Linked DNA regions of Homo sapiens: region 2 is linked to region 1. Evidence: promoter capture Hi-C in 16 types of primary human blood cells and fetal thymus (Javierre and others, 2016). All regions are on one chromosome and are shown on one strand. The core of a region is centred on a gene start or on the middle of the fragment in contact, and the rest is flanking DNA. Distances in the headings are between cores, read along the strand shown.

Region 1 (3,538 bases), core at 454-2,953:
GGAACTTGGCGGCAGAGTGACTGGGACCTAGGACCTGCGGTGGGGCCGCCGCCGCCTCCGCGGGGCCGAGCGCCTGGACCTCGCCCTGAGGTAAACGCGGGTCGACCCGGGGGGCGGATGGGCTCGGGCTGTGTCGAGGGGAGGCGGAGGTGAGCGACCCGCGAAGAGCGCAGGAGCAGGCCGGGGGCCACGCTAGGGCGGACCCAATTTCGGAATAGCGCGGCCCGGGCGGCGGCGTGCGCTGGGAGGAATGCTGGGTCTGTCGCTAGCGCCAAACTTGACCACGCTGCGACCTTTTCACTCTGTGCTCTGACCTTCAAATCTCCCTCCCCCGATTTTTTTTTTTTTTTTTTTTTTGAGACAGAGTTTCGCTTTTGTTGCCCAGGGCGGGAGTGCAGTGACATGATCTCGGCTCACTGCAACCTCCACCTCCTGGGTTCGGGCGAGTGTCCTGCCTCAGCCTCCCGAGTAGCTGGGATTATAGACCCCCGCCACCATGCCCGGCTAATTTTTTTTATTTTATTTATTTATTTATTTATTTATTTATTTATTTTTGTAGTAGAGACAGGGTTTCACCATGTTGGCCGGGTTGATCTCGAACTCCTGTCCTCAAGTGATCCGCCTGCCTCAGCCTCCCAAAGTGCTGGGATTACAAGCGTGAGCCACCGCACCCGGCCTTCTCCCAATTTTTAAAACTCGCTGGCTGGGCTGACAGCTACAGGGCCAGGAATTCAAAACTTAGCCTCACCAGTCTCCCCTCCTCAGACCGAGGAGGTTGTTTTGTTTTGTTTGAGACAGAATCTCACTCTGTCGCCCAGGCTGGATTGCAATGGTGCGATCTCGGCTCACTGCAACCTCTGCCTCTCCGGTTCAAGCCATTCTCCTGCTTCAGCCTCCCGAGTAGCTGGGATTACAGGCGCCTGCCACCACACCCAGCTAATTTTTGTATTTTTAGTAGAGACGGGGTTTCATCATGTTGGCCAGGATGGTCTCGAACTCTTGATCTCAAGTGATCCGCCCACCTCGGCCTCCCAAAGTGCTGGGATTATGGGTGTGAGCCACCATGCCTGGCCAGACCTGGGGTTTGGACCCATTAAAGAGCTTCCTTACAGATGGCTGGCGGTCTTGCCACCAATTGTTTCAAAAGTAGATGTCTGGTTTAGAGTACTTAAGACATTCACAGATTCAAATGTTGAATTTTGAAATATCCCTGATATATTTCTGTATTGTATTACCAAAAAAAAAAAAAAAAAAGAAGTTAGACAGGAGTTTGGAACCAGAGAACAGCCTGTTGGGGGAGTGGGGACTACAGCAGGGCTACCCAGGCCCCTCCTCCTCCCTGTCCCTTCGGCTCCCACCCTCTGCCAGGCTTACCTGTAAATCGGGCCATACTTCTGGAAATTCTGGACATGGTGAAGGTGGACTTTGTGTGTGCCCGTCTCCCTCCAGAAATGGTACAGGTTTAGCCAGCCATTGTCACCAGGAGAGGGGATCTCATTGAAGGGGCGAGGACTGCGGGTGGAGATGCCAGCTCCCTCGCCAGTGGGCACCCTGAGACGCCCCAGCCCCTCCCTGGGGGCACTCAGAAAGGTCTGGCAGCCTTTGACCAGGACTGAGCGTGGGGGAAGACCCTTGGCCAGCATGCTGTCCCCACAGCTGTGACTGTACCTGCTCCACTTCAGCGGGGACTGCTAGGATGACTGTAGCCCTGGGCCACCAGGGCCAAGATTATAACTACCAGCTCAAGGCCATACCAGAAGCTGATAAAATGTTCACGTCCTTCCTCCTGCTGCAGGCTCAAACCCGCAGACAGCTCCTCCCCTACTCGGTATGAAGGTTCAGTCTGGAATTTCTGCAGCGTGAGGTTCTCCAAAGGACAGGGAGACCCCTCTGTCTCTGCCCTCAGTGCCAGCCCTAGCAGACTCCTGAAATATCTGCCTGTGCTTTTGCCTGAGCTGGGGCCTCCCACTGGCCCCTGCAGCGGAGTCCATGCCCTGGCAGCCATTGGTCAAGACTGCAGACAACCTGTGTTTGGGGGAAATGAGGGGCCCAAGAGAAGGTCAGAGCTATCTTGCCAGCTTGGGCAACATACGTCTTAGTTATGGCCCCACTGTATAGACACACATCATTGAACAACAGGGATAAGTTCTGAGAAATGCATCCTTAGGCTATTTTATTTTATTTTATTTTATTTTATTTTATTTTATTTTAAGAGAGTTTCATTCTTGTTGCCCAGGCTGGAGCGCAATGGCACAGTTTCACCTTGGAACCCTAATCCTCGTCGTCTCTCCCCAGTTGACCCAGATTTGGGGCTGTAATTCAGTACAGCTGACTCAGAGGGGCTCTGGGTCCCTTGAGCTGAGGTCTGTGGTCAGGCTCCACTCTGGACACACTCTAAGACCTTGGCAAATCTGGTTGCCATGGAACTCAGGATGTCAGCTCTTCCCTGTCCACACACTTGATCTGTGCTGCTTTCCCCTCAGAGCTGCTTCCATACCCCCTCCCATCATATCATATCCCCAGACCCATCCTTCCAGCCCAGGTCAGCCCCCACACCCACCCCCCATCACCCTGCACCTACCACTTTCCCAAACAACAAGGGTCAGTCACCTGTAGAGTTTTCAAGTCATTTCAACAAAATTACAGCCCACTTGGTAAAAATGTGTAGGTCAGAAAACATACATGTGCCATGTAGAGCATTTCATGACAGCAATCTACACTATACCTTATACTTATCATTGGAAGGTACAACTTCTTGCTTTTTTTCCCCAAAATCTTATTTTCTGGCAAATAAGGCATTTAAAACACACATCTAAGAGACAGAAAATAGACTGGTGGTTGCTTAGAGCTAGGGGGATAGAGGAATTAGAGGATGGGACATAAAGTGTGTAGGGATTCTTAGGATGATGAAAATGAAAATATTCTAAAGTATATTGTGGTAATTATTGAACAACTCTCTGATACACTAAAAGCCATTGAATTGCATACTTTAAATGGGTGAATTGTATGGTGTGTGAATTATATCTCAATAGAGCTGTTACCAAACACACACACACACACACACACACGAGTGACATCCTCCTGGCCTCTTCTGTTGTATGTGTCAGCCCATAGATCACCCACAATGGCAAAAGTTGTCCTTACACAGCCACTTGACCCCAGACTCCAATACTGTTGAACCACTTTCAACAAATTTAGAGCAACAGTTTTTAGAAGAAAAAAAAAAAGTACTTATCAAGAGTGGTTGTTGCTCTTCCCGCTGGAGTGACCACTACCTCATCAGTCATGAACCTTCTGATAAAGAGAGTATGGAGAAAGCCTGTTTTGCCTCACTGATGACCTTGAGCCTGGAATGACATCAGCCAAGGAAGGCAGTGTCTCACGAGCAGCGGCAGGGTGATGAGCTTCCACAAAGAAAAGCAGTCTTCCAAGGACTAGTTTTTCCTCCAAGGGTCTCAGCACTGAGGTGACATTTATAACTTTCTGACTTAAAGTCAATCCCATTGTTCTACGCAGCCCCACATTCCTCCCTCAGAAG
Region 2 (3,538 bases), core at 510-3,009, 130 kb after region 1:
TTTTTTTTTGAGAAGGAGTCTCGCTCTGTCTCCCAGGCTGGAGTGCAGTGGCACAATCTTGGCTCACTGCAAGCTCCACCTCCTGGGTTCACGCCATTCTCCTGCCTCAGCCTCCCAAGTAGCTGGGACTACAGGTGCCCGCTACCACGCCCAGCTAATTTTTTGTATTTTTTTTAGTAGAGACGGGGTTTCACCGTGTTAGCCAGGATGGTCTCGATCTCCTGACCTCTTGATCCGCCCGCCTCGGCCTCCCAAAGTGCTGGGATTATAGACGTGAGACACTGCGCCCGGCCAATTTTTCTATTTTTTAGTAGAGACGGGGTTTCACCATGTTGGCCAGGCTGGTCTCGAACTCCTGACCTCAAGTGATCCACCCACTTTGGCCTCCCAAAGTGCTGGGATTATAGGCGTGAGCCACCACGCCCGGCCTAATTTTTATATTTTTTTGGAGAGACAGGGTTTCACCATGTTGGCCAGGCTGGTCTCAAACTCCTGACCTCAAGTGATCCACCCACCTCGGACTTCCAAAGTGCTAGGATTACAGGTGTGAGCCACCATGCCGGGCAGCAAATTCTTCACGGCCTTGATAAGTAGTGTGTTGTTATGGTTTGAATGTGGCCCCTAAAAATCTGTGTGTTAGAAACTTAATTGTTCTCCCCTCATAAATGGATTAATGTCAGTTCTGCCCTCATGAATGAATATATGGAGTAATGAGAGTTCTGCCCTCTTGAATGGAGTAATGTCATTATCATGGGAGTAGGTTCGTTATCACGGGAATGGCTTTGCAATAAAAACAAGCTTTGTTTTTTTGTTATAAAAGCAAGCTCTATCATGGGAATGGCTTTGTTATAAAAGCAAGCAAGAGTAACCAGAATCTTTCTGGTTGCCCTCTCACCATGTGATGTTCTCTGCTATGTTATGACACAGCAAGAAGGATCTCACCAGATCCTGACTTCAGGCTCTTGGGCTTCCCAGCCTCCAGAACCATGAACTCAGTAAACTTCTTATAAACTACCCAGTCTGTGCTATGCAGTGAGAGCAACAGAAAACAGATGAAAACGTGTTCTCTGGGCCTTCTCATGAGGCATAATTAGCTAGGAGATCTTCTGGTTACCTATAGTCTATCCATTCTGGCACACCTATTTCCCTGAGTCTTTTCATTCTACCATCACTATCTGCCATAGCAATTCCGGCATGTAAGCTTTCTTTGGCATAGGTCATCACTTTTTCCATGCTTCTAGGATCCATCCTGGTAGTAAGATTGTACCATCTCCTATTGTCCTTGCCAGGATGTTAAATCTTGTATTTTGAAAGAGAGATTCCTGCCGGGCGCAGTGGCTCACACCTGAAATCCCGGCACTTTGGGAGGCCGAGGCAGGCGGATCACAAGGTCAGGAGTTCGAGACCAGCCTGGCCAACATGGTGAAATCCCGTCTCTACTAAAAATACAAAAATTATCTGGGCATGGTGGCACGTGCCTGTAATCCCAGCTACTCGAGAGGCTGAGGCAGGAAAGTTGTTTGAACCCGGGAGGCAGAGGTTGCAGTGAACTGAGATTGCGCCATTGCACTCCAGCCTGACAGGGTGAGACTCCATCTCAAAAAGAAAGAAAAGAAACGAAAAGAAACAAAGAGGGATTCCCAAGTCAATAAACTCTTCCCTATCCAATTTTATATTCCTTCTCCTTCATCAAGCACTCTCAGAATCCAGTTCCACATGTATCTCCCTGGCTCCTGCCAATACATGCTGGCTAGGTCTTGCTATTTCTGTGGCATATAGTCCCTTTCCACCCCTATCATACCCAGCACCTCTCCAGCTGGGTTATGCTGTAGCTAACCTAGTATAGGCTAGGAGGCAATGTGGGGGCAGATTCTGAGGGGGAGCTGTTGCTTTGTGGAGAAAGGCACTGCATTGTCCCTCAGCAGGGAGAGAGTGGTAGTTCTTACTAGGGAGGAGTGGGCCAATTCTGTAGGCTCAGGAGATTCAGAGGAATTTGTGGAGTCAAAATATTCAGGAGAGGCCAAGGCGAGTGGATCACTTATGGTCAGGAGTTCGAGACCAACCTGGCCAACATGGTGAAACCCCGTCTCCACTAAAAATACAAAAAAAACTAGCTGGGCATGGTGGTGCATGACTGTAGTCCCAGCTACTTGGGAGGCTGTGGCAGGAGAGTCGCTTGAATCCTGGAGGCAGAGGCTGCAGTGAGTCAACATCACACCACTGCACTCCAGCCTGGGAGACAGAGCGAGACTCCGTCTCAAAAAAAAAATCTTTAGGAGCATCCACTCTGATATCTCCATTCCACGTGTCAGGGTCCCAAGCTTTTCCAACCAGGACTTTGACTTTAGCATAAGAGATGTGCCTTATTTGGACATTTAACTGTCTTTGAAGTCAGTTGCTCAGATTATTATTATTATTATTATTTTAGATGGAGTCTTGCACTGTCCCCCAGGCCGGAGTGCAGTGGCACGATCTCCATTCACTGCAACCTCTGCCTCCCAGGTTCAAGCGATTCTCCTGCCTCAGCCTCCCTAGTAGCTGGGATTACAGGCGCACGCCACCATGCCCAGCTAATTTTTTGTATTTTTAGTACAGACGGGGTTTCACTATCTTAGCCAGGCTGGTCTTGAACTCCTGACCTGGTGATCTGCCCGCCTCAGCCTCCCAAAGTGCTGGGATTACAGGTGTGGGCCACCACGCCTGGCCAGTTGCTTAGATTATTAAGTCCTAGGCTTTGTCCTTGCTTTTCTCCACCCTTTCACTGCTAGAGATGTTGGCTTATTTGTATAAACCAAAGAGGCCTTTTCCTTTTCATAACCTGGATTTTTTTTTTTTTTTTTTTTTGAGATGATCTTACTCTGTTGCCCAGGCTGAAGTGCAGTGGCACGATCTTGGCTCACTATAACCTTTGCCTCCCGGATTCAAGCAATTCTCCTGCCTCAGCCTCCCAAGTAGCTGGGACTACAGGTATGTGCCATCACGCCTGACTAATTTTTGTATTTTTAGCAGAGATGGGGTTTCGCCATGTTGGCCAGGCTGGTCTCAAACTCCTAACCTTAGGTGATCCACCTGCCTTGGCCTCCCAAAGTGCTGGGATTACAGGCATGAGCCATTGCACCTGGCCCCATAACCTGGATTTTAATGCATGTTACTGGCCCTAAGTTGTTTATTATCCTGTAGCACATCCATGGAGCTTGGCAATAGCCACCAATTCCATCATCCTCATAGCTACTACTCCCTCCATACATCTCAAGTACCTGGCACATTGTGCCCTTAGAGTATCCAGTTCTACTGGTACATTCTCCCAATTTGCTGCCATTTGTCTGTGCTCTGCCCACCTCCACTAATGGGATCCTCATCATCAGATGGGTGGTGATCCAGTTCCAAACCCCATCTTACCATCTCCTTTCTCATCTACTTTGGTAGCAACTGTGGAAGACCAGATTCTCAAGAAGGAGATGCTGAGATAGAGTTTGGGAGGCAAAATGTTTATTAAGGACCCATACCTGTGAAAGGAAGGAAGAAAAAGCAGGACTGG

The links. The method cuts DNA at HindIII sites, captures the fragments that hold promoters and counts their contacts. A CHiCAGO score of 5 or more calls a contact.
Region 2: a fragment that was not itself captured here is called in contact with the fragment with the promoter of CYP11A1 in region 1 in 1 of 17 cell types (fetal thymus); the score reaches 5.6 in fetal thymus.

The regions. Positions count from the first base shown.
Region 1 is chr15:74,365,943-74,369,480 of GRCh38, forward strand. CYP11A1 (cytochrome P450 family 11 subfamily A member 1) reads right to left here and starts at 1,704. Exons shown (of 9, transcript NM_000781.3): 1 at 1,375-1,704. The coding sequence starts at 1,643. LOC124903524 (a long non-coding RNA gene) reads left to right here. Exons shown (of 2, transcript XR_007064709.1): 2 at 1-3,538. RefSeq lists a silencer at 87-246, a promoter at 1,654-3,538 and enhancers at 1,836-1,860, 3,282-3,404. The HindIII fragment of the contact is 5,873 bases long and covers 1-3,538 here.
Region 2 is chr15:74,498,734-74,502,271 of GRCh38, forward strand. It overlaps LOC102723714 (a long non-coding RNA gene), which reads left to right and starts at 101. Exons shown (of 2, transcript XR_007064712.1): 1 at 101-134; 2 at 3,427-3,538. The HindIII fragment of the contact is 1,120 bases long and covers 1,200-2,319 here.